2 separate regions of the Homo sapiens genome follow, and region 2 is linked to region 1. The links are contacts of gene promoters, found by promoter capture Hi-C in human tissues and cell types (Jung and others, 2019). All regions are on one chromosome and are shown on one strand. The core of a region is centred on a gene start or on the middle of the fragment in contact, and the rest is flanking DNA. Distances in the headings are between cores, read along the strand shown.

The links. Contacts are between HindIII fragments. The study calls those that stand out against the background at their distance.
Region 2: a fragment that was not itself captured here is called in contact with the fragment with the promoter of SLC4A4 in region 1 in 1 of the 25 tissues and cell types used here (lymphoblastoid cells).

Annotation. Positions count from the first base shown.
Region 1 is chr4:71,184,451-71,191,191 of GRCh38, reverse strand. It overlaps SLC4A4 (solute carrier family 4 member 4), which reads right to left and starts at 3,933. Exons shown (of 26, transcript NM_001098484.3): 1 at 3,791-3,933. LOC124900712 (a long non-coding RNA gene) reads left to right here and starts at 4,668. Exons shown (of 2, transcript XR_007058133.1): 1 at 4,668-6,611; 2 at 6,737-6,741. The HindIII fragment of the contact is 14,418 bases long and covers 1-6,741 here.
Region 2 is chr4:72,283,103-72,289,843 of GRCh38, reverse strand. ADAMTS3 (ADAM metallopeptidase with thrombospondin type 1 motif 3) reads left to right here. Exons shown (of 22, transcript NM_014243.3): 21 at 976-1,093; 22 at 6,140-6,741. The coding sequence ends at 6,708. Among named protein-coding and RNA genes, the nearest start is that of NPFFR2, 250 kb to the right of the region's middle. The HindIII fragment of the contact is 7,779 bases long and covers 1-6,412 here.

The DNA.
Region 1 (6,741 bases), core at 2,684-5,183:
AGTCAAAAATGTGTCTAATACACCTAACCTACCAAACATCATAGCTTAGCCTAACCTACCTTAAATGTGTTCAGAATATTTACATTCGCCTACTAGGCAAAATCATCTAACACAAAGCCTAACCTATTTTACAAATAAACTATTGGATAGCTCATGTAATTAATTGAATACTGTACTGAAAGTGAAAAACAGAATGTTGTTACCAGTACTCGAAGTATAGATCCTACTGAATGTGAATGCTTTCACACCATTGTAATTCTGAAAAATTTTAACTGGAACATCATAAGTCTGGAACCGTCTATATTCAGCATCAAGTAAGACATTATCATTAAGGAATAAAATTATTGGCATCATTAGGAAGATTGGAAGAAAAAGTTTTATCTCTCCTTTGCCACAGCAAGTAAAGCCATTAGCATTTATACACTTGTTCATTTTTTACAGACAGGATCTCCCTATGTTGCCCAGGCTGAGGTGCAGTAGCTATTCACAGGCACAATTTAATAGCAATTTTATGGGCACAATTTTAGAGCACATGACAGCCTCGAACTCCTATGCTTAAGTGATCCTCCCAACTCAGCCTCCAGAGTATCTGGGACCACTGCACCTGGCTCTCATTGTATTTTCAATGTCTTGTTAGAAATGTCATTGCACTGCTGAGACTACCAAATGCAATAAAAGCCATTGCCACAGAAGTATTACGAAAGTAGTTAATATGGCTTCCGACAAAATTAAATCAGCCACCTCTACAAATGAGTTGTGTCTGTGTGTGTGTGTGTGTGTGTGTGTGTGTGTGTGTGTGTGTGTGTAAACATACATAGACAGAACTGAGTAAAGGAGACTCCATCCCTATTGCTGGAAAAATAACCAAAGCTGTGCACTACTGAGGATAAAAAGATCATCTTCATGTCAGAAGAACAGCAGCATATTTTCCATTTTTGTGACCCAAACGTATCAAGAGTTTATATATTGGGAGAAAGGCAAAATGTATTTGGAATACAACTTAGCTGACCTCAAATAAAACTTTATTCCTCCTTTCCTCTAAGATTCCTACATTATGTAAAAGTAGTAAGATCCAGTTTTGTAAAGTCTTACTAGCTTCCTGGATGTTCTTTATCCATTTTGCTAAATGACTCCCTAAAAATACATAAATTTCATAAGTCACAGGTTGTCCTTGGAAACAGCATCAACTGAGATCCATGTTCTGCTTATAGCTTCCTTTGTCCCATCAAATCATGCATTCTGATTCCTTCATTTAGCAATCAAGAAAAAAACACTTAGAAATGTTAATCATCATTAGATTTTCCTCTTCTCAGTTTGTTCTTTCCACTCCCAATCTTATCTATCAACTCTGGTCTTAGATTTCATTCATATTATTTTAAATAAACACAAAGAAACTCCAAGAAACAGATATGTATCTCGCCACACTTAAGTCCAGCAGAGTCTCTCAGGACGCTTCTCCTCTAACAATAGCAGTCCTCATATGAGGTCTACAGCGCTCACAGAGGCAGGCAAGGAATCCTGTTTATTTACATGATTCACCAGCTAGTGTGCATTTCTTTAAGTGTTGTCTTTTCCTTTAAGATGTAAGCTATGGCCAGATATCACTCTTGTTATCGGAACAAGGGATCAGAACCTCAAAACTGTACCTGCCAGCACTCAGCGAAAAATGAGATTACCATCAGGGCCTACTGGAAGTTGTCCCAAAGGTTACCCGATTTCTATCGCATTATTCCTCTAAATCTGATTGCCTTTATTTCTTTCACACAACATTTTTGTAAATCCAAAATGTCTCTTAATCATTTAGAAGACTGAAATCATAGTACTAACATTCAAACATCTAAAATTATTTAATATTGACTACGTGAACTAAAAGAAATACATTAATCTAAACTGAGAGTACATTCTGTCAATCTCATTGGGTAAGGTGTCTAATGTATGTTTTTAAGTCTCCAGAAATGACCCCAAAAGAGCAAATGGCACCAAAACCCTCATTCTGAAGTACACTTAAATCCAAAATGTTGGGGGTTTCTTAGTTTTCAGTTTTTTTAACATGGCTGGGACTATCAAAATATCCCATCTTGTCCTTGTCACCCCCACTCCTACAAATGTTCTCTGCCTCAACAGCTCATAATGTAGTGGTACTGCTTTCCTGTCTCCATCTACATATATGAGAGTTTCTCTGTCATCTTACTTGACAGTGTGGGATACAGTTAAAACAAATCATTCAATTTCAAGATCTACCACAAAGACCAGAATCCTATCAGTACTTTTAACTTTAAAATGAAAGTAAAAGTTTTTTCTCAGCTATAAAAGTTATAGAAAAATAAACAGGCACACTTCCTTTGAATGAAGTTATACTAATATCTTCAGTCTAAGTACTAAAATGACCATGTAAATTATTTACATGCTAATATGAAAGACACAAGAAAGAGAGCTGTAGTCAGAAACGTTTTCAAAAGACATCACATTGGCTATAAAAAGCTACTGAATATTGTTCTAATGGCATTGACGAATCTACTGAAATCACAATGAAAAAAAAAAGCCCAAATGAGCAATGTACACTTTAATTAATTTAATTCAGGTAGTATTACAACTCCAAGTCCCAAGATACAAGAAAAAAGAGAAATACAGTACAACACAGTGTCTCTTAGGAAAGGAACTGCTGCAGGATTTGAGACAATGAGCGTTTAGTACAGCCCAGTGTTCTTGATTTCTCATTAGGAGCAACTTTCCAGGGCACTGAAGCGAACCAGGAAAAGAAATGGGGAGGGTAAGCCAAAGGGGTCGCTGCTCTTCAGTGTCAAGTTGGAAAGAGCTTGCTGCGATCAATTATGCTGAGAAGGTAGGGCCTTGAGAGGGAAGGAAGGATAGAAAAAAACAGTTTTACAGGGCGCTGAAAAAAGTGATAGAAGAGAGGTAGAACTGCTTCCTCCATCTTTCACGTCAAGTTCAAGTTTTTCTTTTTGTTCTATAAGAACTTTTGTCTTTATGGTGCTTGCTGCGGTTTGCTGATGTAGTTCCCAGGTCCTGCCTTCCTCTGGTGACTTATTAACGGACTGGCAACGGCTGAGTAAAATGCACTTAAGAAAAAAGAAATCACCTCTCTTTGCCAAGACTCACATGCTGCCCAGTACCTGAGGGAGAGCTCCGTTGTCGCTGGCCAAGAGAAATTCCAGTTTAACCTATGCCTCCCCTAGCCAAATCCATTGCAAATAAATGTGTGTGTGCCACTTGCAGAGAATCTGCCTGACTCACCCCCCGCCTTTGGCGTGCCAGGGAGAGATGTAAATGCTCCGTCCTGGAGCTGGCAGTGAAGTGGGGGCCGCGGCCTCGGTAGCACCAAGAGTCCCCAAATCTCCCCCTGTGATGGGTTTAGGGATGTGTTCCTCTCAAGCAGGTGCCTGGTCACAGGGCGACCACCCAGGCTCACAGCAACACACGTGTCACTGAGCCCGAGCCCAGCCCGCCGCAGAACTGGCCCCGCAGTCCTCGTAAAGACGCCCAGTTGCGCGCAGGGGACTTAGCAGTGAGGGAGAAGCAGACCACCCAAACTCTTCCTCTAAACCCTAAGAAGGAAAAAAAATACTTTTCCGCGGAAGCAGCCTCCACACACCGCCCGCGCCCAGCTCAGGGGATGCCCGGCCCGCAATTGACCTCTCTCTCCCTCCCAGGAGCGCGCTGAGGCCGCCTGCGCGCCCTACGGAATCGGCCCCCGGGCCCGCGCCCGCCTCCGCCTTGGAGCGAGGGACCCCATCGACCCTCCCGGCAGCTGCCGGGGCCGGGCGCTCACCTCCTGGGGTCTGGCTTCCGTCGCTCCTCCAGTTTGGCGGCGGAGTGTGGGGCTGCAGCGGCCACTGCCACTGCCGCCGCCGCCGCCGCCTTCGCTGCCACCGCGGCCGCCGCCGCCACCGAAGCGCTGCCCGGCGCGCCGCCGGGGTTGGAGGCTGGGGGGCCGCGGAATCCCTGGAGGCGCGAGCCCGGGACGCGGCGGGGCCGAGCCGCGGGAAGTTGTCTGCGCCGGGCGCGGAGCGAGCGGGGCGCCAGTCACCCGCGCCCAAGTAGTCACAACTTTGCCGCCTGGGTGGGTGCGCGCTCCGGAGAGAGGCGAGCGCGGGAGAGCGGGGCAAAGGCGCTGGGGCGGGAGGGTCTTCGGAGCAGGCAGGACTGCAACCTGAACGGCCCGCGAGGAAAGGGGAAAGGTGGCGCGGGGGGATGTCTACACAGCCTGTGTGGTGCGCGGCGAGCGAGTGTGTAAGAGCGCGGGCGTCTACTCTACTTTGCCTCCTGCAGCTCCTGCATATTTATGGGGATCTCTGATGTTCCTGCTAGTAACTAACACTGCAGCAGTGGAGCCCAGCCCAGGCGCCCCTCGGGAGCAAGCCGGGGTGCGGGGGCTCACGGAAGGCGGCCGCGGCGGAGGCTGTGCCGCGAGCGCGAGCCTGCGATCCATATTTAAAGCCGTAAGTGGCCTCGGCCGGCCCCCTGCCCTGCCCTCGCTCGTGCCCGCCAGCCCGGCCCCCACCGCTCCGGGCCGCTGCTCGGCGTCAGCCGCCCGGGCATCGGCGGCGGGGAGGGGCCTCGAGCCGCGCCGCCTCCGCCGGGGGCTTGGGCTCTGTGCGCAGCGCCCGCCCGGAGCTGGCGGAGGACCCGGCTCCGGACCGGCCGCTCTTGCCTCCCAGGTTCCTTTTCTCTCACGCCCTGGGCTGGGTCCTAGGTCCAGCTTTTTGTCCTACTCAAAAGAGTTCCCCAGTGGGGAGAGCCTGTGCTTTCATGCAGAACTAAAATTGCGTGAGTTTCCCAGCTCAGATCACTCTTGACTCTACTTTATAAAACTTGGGGCGTATAGAGTGCTGCCATAACACAGTATTAAGTAATTGTTCACCTTTAACAAAAGATGTCTGAAGATAACGTGGTTGTCAACTGTGTCCTTCACTTATGTCACTGATGCCTTTCTGTCTTCCTTGGGAGTTAGGAAAACAGCCTTAGCAAAGTGATTATTTGTATTTATTCTGTTCCTAAGTCTAATAATGAGGTTCAAGTACTCTTTGCCAAGCAAATAATATATCAGTGATCCAGCACCATTGCCATTGGTAAACTATTGAATCATAAGTAAACCATTAAGATATGAACAGACTGTCAGCACAGACACACCATCTATTGTTCTGGGTACTGCTAGAGAGTAGTCACTTAATGGATTGCAACCACATGGTATATCATGCAAGTGTATATCATTTTCTAGTAATACATATTATATGTAATGTGTATGTGGACATCACTGACCAAACTGTGTTTTCAACAGTAGCCACCAAAATGCATAAAGCTCAAGAGAAATAATTTAACATACCAACTGCTCCTGGTCCCCAGTATTTCTTCAATACAAAGCTATAGCTTATAGGACCTCCAAGAGAAAAAAAAAATGAGGGTAGGGAGGAAATAATTTGAGGACAGAGGCTTTTCTTTCTAGTATTCAAAACTGGAAGAGATCCAGAGATCCATGGTGCCTCACCAGTGCTTGGAAAGCAGGTATGGAGCCTGTGTCTTTTAAAAAGTTTCTATCTTTAAAATCCTTAGTTAATGCTCAGAAGGCACAAGGAAACACGCCAATCTGATGTCTGAAATTAAAATGTACTGTCATGTGTCTGTTGTCACATCTGGCTCACATATATGTTCACACATTCTACATAACCCAGTGCAGTGATATATCACTGGGAATTTTTCATGGGAAACTCAAAACCAAAGATAAAACAAAAATTTAGCTTTAAAGTTTTCACCTAAATGATTATGTTCTGTTTCTAGGCTAATGTTAAAATTAACTTTCACTCCCTGAGCAGGCAGTTAGCAAGAATCAGCAACCGCAAAGTAAGCTAACAGGCAAAGGGAAGTCACTTTTGTATTAAAAATTTGCCATTGCTGTTCAGCAGTTTTTCACACTGTGGATTATGTATTTCAACATAGCTGGCAATTTCTCATTATAATCGTGAAGCAGCCATGAACACTCAGTGCTGGTGAATAAGAAAGAAAAAGTCCAAGAAACACATTTTTCAAGCATTCTGCTGCAAAATATATCAAACTTTCCTTCACGTAAGTTAAATAGGTAACTCCTGAAGGCATTTCAGTACAAAGATTGGCAAGAATTTACCCTAAAAGGAGCATAAAGTTGGTTTGTGGGGTGGGAGGCAGGGAGACAATGAGAGTACTATAGAGGTGAGATTTGGTATGTGTCTTAAATTAATGAGAAAAAGAGTCTTTGGCAAAGCGTTGACAACCTCTGTTATCATTTTCATTACTTGATGTTTGCTATCCCACAATTAAAAGAGTGTTCTATTTCCTTTCCTATTGATTAGTGTCCAGTAGTTGAGATATACGTGTTTTCCTTTGAAAGGTCATTGATTAATTTTTCTTATAAACTCTGCATGTGATCACTTTCGATTGCTTTTCCGGGTGATAACAATGAATCCTGAGATTTTTGTTCACCTCTCCTAAAACTTGTGCCATGTCTCTTGATTCTCATAAGCACAAAGAAAGATTTATTAGTTCTTTTTGTCTTGGGGTTCACACAGCTTGGTGACAAGAAGAATGAGCAGAAAAACTGATGGAATTAGAAAAATGGTGTAAGTAAGCTTTACTGATAATGATTTGTTTACTTTTTAATCAACAACTCTCTGTACTAAAGGACTTCTTAGAATACCAGCCCAGTACTTAGCTTATTAATCAAATTTCTTTCGTATCATCCAAGGTCCT
Region 2 (6,741 bases), core at 1,274-3,773, 1.1 Mb before region 1:
AGTATGGCACTGGCATCTGGAGAGGGTCTTCCTGTAGCTGAAGGCATCACATGGCAAGGAGGCATGCAAGAGAGACACAGAGGATCCTTCTATCAGTAGCCCATTCCTGCAATAACTAACCCATTCCCAAGATAATAGCATTAACCCATGCCCATAAATCACCTCAGAAAGGTCCCACCTCTTAAAGGTCCCTCTCAACATTGTTACAATGGCAGTTAAATTTCAACCTGAGTTTTGGAGGGGACATTCAAACCATAGTACAAGTGCAGGTCACCCACATAGGATGATAATGATAACACATATCAAAGTCTCAGTAGAAGTCCCTCCTCCACAGCACCTTCCTAGGGCCATTACATGGAACTTTCTGAGCTTAGTTTTAGAGCAGTAAACCTTTTCATTAGAGAAATGAACTTAAGAGCACAGAGAAATAGTAGTTCCAAGGATGTTGAATTAACCATCCAAGGCAACTTATCAGTAAATTCTGCTATCTGTAAGAAAGAAGTGAGGACTGTCAATACTATGATTGGGTCCCTGAGAACAGACATCATCAACATTGTATTTAGAAACTACAGCAGATGTTACCATTGTTATTAATCATGGCTTCTTTCATATGATATGCTTACTAGGTGTCAGGAATTTTGTTACTGCTTTATACACTTTGTTCCTTTGCCTTCATTTAGTCCTAAAACAATCTTATAAGACAGGTATTATTATCCCAGCTTTCCACTAGATAAGGAAGGTGAATCTTATGTAGAAAAAACAATGCTCCCAGGCTGGTAAATAATGGAGTCAGAATATAAACTCAGTAGTATCTGTCTTCAAAACCACTGTGCAGCATTACTTAATAGAGAACCCACTCCAGATCTCTGTGTCTTTGTGTGTGTGTGTGTGTGTGTGTGTGTGTGTGTGTGTGTGTGTGTATGTGCATGGTCTTGGTGCAATAAATGTCTGTAACCACAGCCTTTGTCTCTGCAGTGTTCAGTGACCTGCGGTGAAGGAACGGAGGTGAGGCAGGTCCTCTGCAGGGCTGGGGACCACTGTGATGGTGAAAAGCCTGAGTCGGTCAGAGCCTGTCAACTGCCTCCTTGTAATGGTAGGTGTCACACCAATTGACTTCACTGCTCTGATGTTTTTAAACCTCAAAAAGCAGAATTTCCTTTTGAGAGAAGTTATAGAATTTATATTTGTTTACTGATAAATAACCAAAGGAAAACACCTGTGAAATATTAGTCCAGTTCAGTTCTTTAAGATCAGCATTTGAGGTAATGTCCTACACTTTTTAATTATCATGATCACTATAGCCCTGCCATTTCTGGCTGGTGGCATTGGAGTGAGGGCTGTGCCATGTATATGTAACGTCTATCAATTTGTGTTGCTAATAGGAACCACTTAATTTTTCCTTGTTATATTTAACTATAACTTCACATCTTTATTAAAAGCATAATTTTGCAAAGATTTTGAAATATTTTACTAAAATTATTCAATTTTGATCTGTGGGTAATGTTACTCAACCCTAAAGCCATTTCCAATAACTGTCTGTCCATAGAGTAACTTCAAACAGACACCTTGCACATAGGATAAAATTCAGCATTTGCCTGACCTGCCAACTTGCTGTATGGCAAAAGCAGAGTATATTTTCTTTATTTAGTCAATTTGCTATTTTAAAACAGCAAAATGGGGCCAGGTGCGGTGGCTCATGCCTGTAATCCCAGCACTTTGGGAGGCCAAGGTGGGTGAATCACCTGAGGTCAGGAGTTCGAGACCAGCCTGAACAACATGGTAAAACCCTGTCTCTACTAAAAATACAAAAATTAGCTGGGCATGGTGGCGCATGCCTGTAATTTCAGCTACTTGGGAGGCAGAGGCAGGAGAATTGCTTGAACCCAGGAGACAGAGGTTGCAGTGAGCTGAGATCACGCCACTGCATTCCAGCCTGGGTGACAGAGTGAGACTCCATTTCAAAACATAAGTAAATAAAACAAGCAAAATATATTGGATGGTTTTGGGCTCTATCACTGTCTCCTTCTGCCTCCATTTCCATAGCTCTCTATCCACATCTCTGTCTGTCCTGTGCTCGGTCATCTGTGTCTCCATTTGCTGTCCTCTGTCTCTCTCTTATTTTTGGTGTCTGTCTTGCTCTGTCTCTGATGAGCTGTCACCTGCTGCCTGTATGTGGCTCATTTTCTATGTCAGCCACACATGCTTTTTCGAGGCCTTACTCTTTCTTCTTGCTGTCCTTCCCTCTCCCTCTCCTAGTCTCCCTGGCTGTACCTCCTATCATTCTTTTTCCCTCTCATCTTCTCTCTCCTCCTGCCTCTTCCTGGCTCTCTCTTTCCCCTCTTTCCTTGTTCCATGTGTCTGTCTCCCTTTCTCTCCCATTTTCTCTTTCTCGGTGTCCTCCCCTTCACCCTCTCCCTTTCTCTTTCTTTATCCTCCCCTTCCTCTCCAACTTGGTATGTCTGTCTCTGTCTCTCCATCTCTTCCACCTCTCTCTCTCTCCCTGTCTCTTATCTCCTCCACTGCCTTAGTCTGTTCTAGCTGCTATAACAAAATACCTGAGACTGGGTACTTTATTAAAAAAAAATTATTGCTCAGAGTTCTAAGTCTAGAAGCCCATGATCAAGGCATCAGCAGATTTAGTGTCTGGTGAGGGCTTCCTAGATGGTGCCTTGTTTTTCTGTCCACATGTGGTGAAAAGGGCCAGGGAGCTCCCTTGATTCTCTTTTATAAGGGCATGAATTGCATTCATAAGCGCTCCACCCTGATGGCCTAGTCACCTCCCAAAGTCCCCACCCTGTTAGTACCATTGCCGTGAGGATTAGGTTTCAACAAAGGAATTTTGGGGGCACACATTCAGGCCATACCCACCTTTTTCCTCTCCTTCCAGCCTCTTTTTCTCTACTCCTCCATCTTTTACTCCTTGTGTCTGTCTCTTTCTCCTCCTATCTTTCTCTTCCTAGCCCCTCCACTGACATCTTTTTCTCTTCCTGTCTCATTTTCTCTCCCCAAGTCAGTCTCTCGCCACCCCCATCTGTTTGTTGCACTCTCTCTTCCGTTATATTTTCTTCTCCTGCCTTGTTTTCCTAGCCCACCCATCCCCATCCACCACAACCCTTCTCTTAAATGCAGTTCTGCTAAAGCCACGACAGTGACAACTGTGGACGTTGTTTTCACATATTAGAAGACTCAGGCCTAAAGAAGTTGCTTTTTCCTTGGCCTCCAACACCATAAGTAAGACATTGTTTGAATATTGACATCTGCTGAATGGTGCTTTTTGTCAAGAAAATTGGCAAAGCACTATCTTGTCAAATGTTTTATTTTTTGAAGCTCATTTTCAGGCTTTAAGTCTTCAACCCTTATAAATTACTTCATTATAAATTTTCATCTGAAATATATTATAGCAAGAACATATCTGACCATGAGAGGGAGACATAGGACTTATATATTTAATCATTTTACTTTGGAAAGTATTGACATATGTAAGAGCTCAAAATACAAATCAAAACCAAAAGAACAAACTTTACTCAGAAGTTTTAACATATACTGTCACCAGAATATTTTATTCTTATGTAGTTATTCCTGTTAAGAGGCTGCCACTTTGTAAGTAAGCTTTATTGATCTTGGAGCTGGTACAGCTGTGCATTTCTACAGACGTGCCCAATGGTTAGCAAGAATTTTCTTGATTCTCCTTCTTTAGCCAGAAGAAATTGTTTTGAATATAAAACCAGGGAGCTAATAAGATAGCTTAACTATCATAGTGATTTCATATCCCTTTTAGTTGTTCTGTTGTTCTAAAATTGAGGCCCAAAGGGCAATCCTAAGAGTTCTAACGGTCACATGTTTCTACCATATTTGAAGTAAAATAAGTAATACTTTCTATCAGAATCTCAAACTGCTATTAGAATCAAATGGCCTTTTGAGACCATGTGTGAATCTCTTTTCCAGAACCTCTTATAATGATTTGGGGGTGGAACGAGAAGTCTGAAAAGTTGCCTTAATTTTTTTGTAATTGATTGATTTTTTTCATGTGACTCCATATTTTGATTGATTGTACCATTTTTTTTTTTTTTTTTTGCCTGTAAGCTCTTCTCATTTATCAGTAGGCAAATTCCCATAAGGTTAATGTATTCCTTTGCTCTTATTTTTCTCAGAATATCTCTCCCTTTTGCTCCTCCACACAAAAGTAAATTCTGGCCCTAATGAAACCCAGGTTATGAACAGGACTCTGCAATGCCAAAGTGCTCACACTTAGACATGGGAGACCTTTGGTTGGACTCCTTCTCTAACTCAGAGAAAACAGGTCGTACTTCTAAGAGGGGCCTCCTAACAGGGGCGATGAGGGAAAGGGGTTAGAGGAAAAAGAGAGGACAAGATCGAATAATGTCCTCTCCTCTTGAGACCTAGAGCCTGACACATACAGAAAGAAGACATTTTTCTTATTTTAAGATACAGGTTTTCAAAAAAAATTCACACATGAGAAAATATTTAAGGTGAAACTCATTAATATAATGCTCATTCATAACATAATTAGATGATGACCTAGCTTATATGAAGTATTCAGACACATTATACCATATAATAGACCTGCACATGTCAAGCATATATGAGTCATTTCACAATTTGGGAAGTGGACATCGTATTACAGCTCAATGTTGGTAATTTTAGTCCTCTATTGGCTTCGCCAGCTGACTCTCTCTTTTTTTGTTTCTAACTTTAGAAAAAGGATTTTTTCAATTTTTGGGGAGTTATGTAGCAGGCCTCTTTCTTAGCAGTATAGTATTACCCAATAATAGGCTGTAACTTTAAGTGATTCTATTACATAAATGCCACAATTGACAGTTCTTTGCATTTCTTCTTTGGGCATGGATCAGTGTTTCTGTGTTGCACATATGCAGGGATGCTACTCTATGCACTGGTTCTGTTATCAGAGAGGCACAGGATATGTCTTTATTTCATAAGGTATACCCAGGATGACTAAAACTATGCACAAGTTAACATTTTTATGAGCTTAATATTTGGATTATCTGAAATCCAATTCTTGTAACCTGGAATCAATAAAATTTTAAAGTAATAAAAATAATGTGTACACATGCAGTATGAAGTGTTTTAGAAGTGTTACTTTAGATGTTATCAAGTGTTTTATGAGTATTACTTTAGTAATTTTTAGACAAAGTGCTGTCAATTCAATGAAATTACATTTTATGAGTGTTACTAAGTATCCTTTAAACATAAAGTACTGTCAATTCAATAAAATTAAATGTAAGAACCATGAATTATTCATAAGAAATTTGGCATACTTTACCCAAATTTGTGCATTCAAATAACAAATAATCTGAGAATATTCAATGATAAACATGAAACTATTTTATTCAAACTGGAGAATTTTTTTTTTTTTTTTTGAGACAGAGTCTCGCTCTGTCACCCAGGCTGGAGTGCAGTGGCACAATCTTGGCTCACTGCAAGCTCCACCTCCTGGGTTCACGCCACTCTCCTACCTCAGCCTCACGAGTAGCTGGGACTACAGGCGCCTGCCACCGCGCCTGGCTAATTTTTTTTGTATTTTTAGTAGAGACGGCTTTTCACTGTGTTAGCCAGGATGGTCTCGATCTCAAACTGGAGAATTTTTTTAAATCAAGATGGTATTTTGATTATTCTTTGGAGAATACCTTTGTAAGATTTGTTTTGTTTTTACAAGTGTTTAGTATTTATTTTGATTTCACATTTTAACGTAATGTAGGGAGTACCCTCTGAGAAAGTCAGAAATACCATAAAATAAAAATACAGATGCCCCTTTGCATCCTAAAAATTTAACCACAACGTTAAATAAATTATCTTTGCCCATTCTAAAATCAGATATAGGTTCCTACTTGGAGAAAAAAATACCCTCTGTGGTCTGAAGACTCCTGGTGGAAATATTAAAATAATGATCATCACAAGGACTTTGTAGACAAAGAACTACTTATTTTAGTGAATTCATTCTAATATTCATATTTTTAATGCAAAAGCTCGTGTGGATCACTCCCGTTAGTGTCAGATTGCACTTAAATCTTTTTACATTCATTAAAAATTTTAATTTTTTTCCTCCTTTTATTTTATGTTTAGATGCTAGTGTTAGTTTATTTTCTTTTTATTTTTGCAGATGAACCATGTTTGGGAGACAAGTCCATATTCTGTCAAATGGAAGTGTTGGCACGATACTGCTCCATACCAGGTTATAACAAGTTATGTTGTGAGTCCTGCAGCAAGCGCAGTAGCACCCTGCCACCACCATACCTTCTAGAAGCTGCTGAAACTCATGATGATGTCATCTCTAACCCTAGTGACCTCCCTAGATCTCTAGTGATGCCTACATCTTTGGTTCCTTATCATTCAGAGACCCCTGCAAAGAAGATGTCTTTGAGTAGCATCTCTTCAGTGGGAGGTCCAAATGCATATGCTGCTTTCAGGCCAAACAGTAAACCTGATGGTGCTAATTTACGCCAGAGGAGTGCTCAGCAAGCAGGAAGTAAGACTGTGAGACTGGTCACCGTACCATCCTCCCCACCCACCAAGAGGGTCCACCTCAGTTCAGCTTCACAAATGGCTGCTGCTTCCTTCTTTGCAGCCAGTGATTCAATAGGTGCTTCTTCTCAGGCAAGAACCTCAAAGAAAGATGGAAAGATCATTGACAACAGACGTCCGACAAGATCATCCACCTTAGAAAGATGAGAAAGTGAACCAAAAAGGCTAGAAACCAGAGGA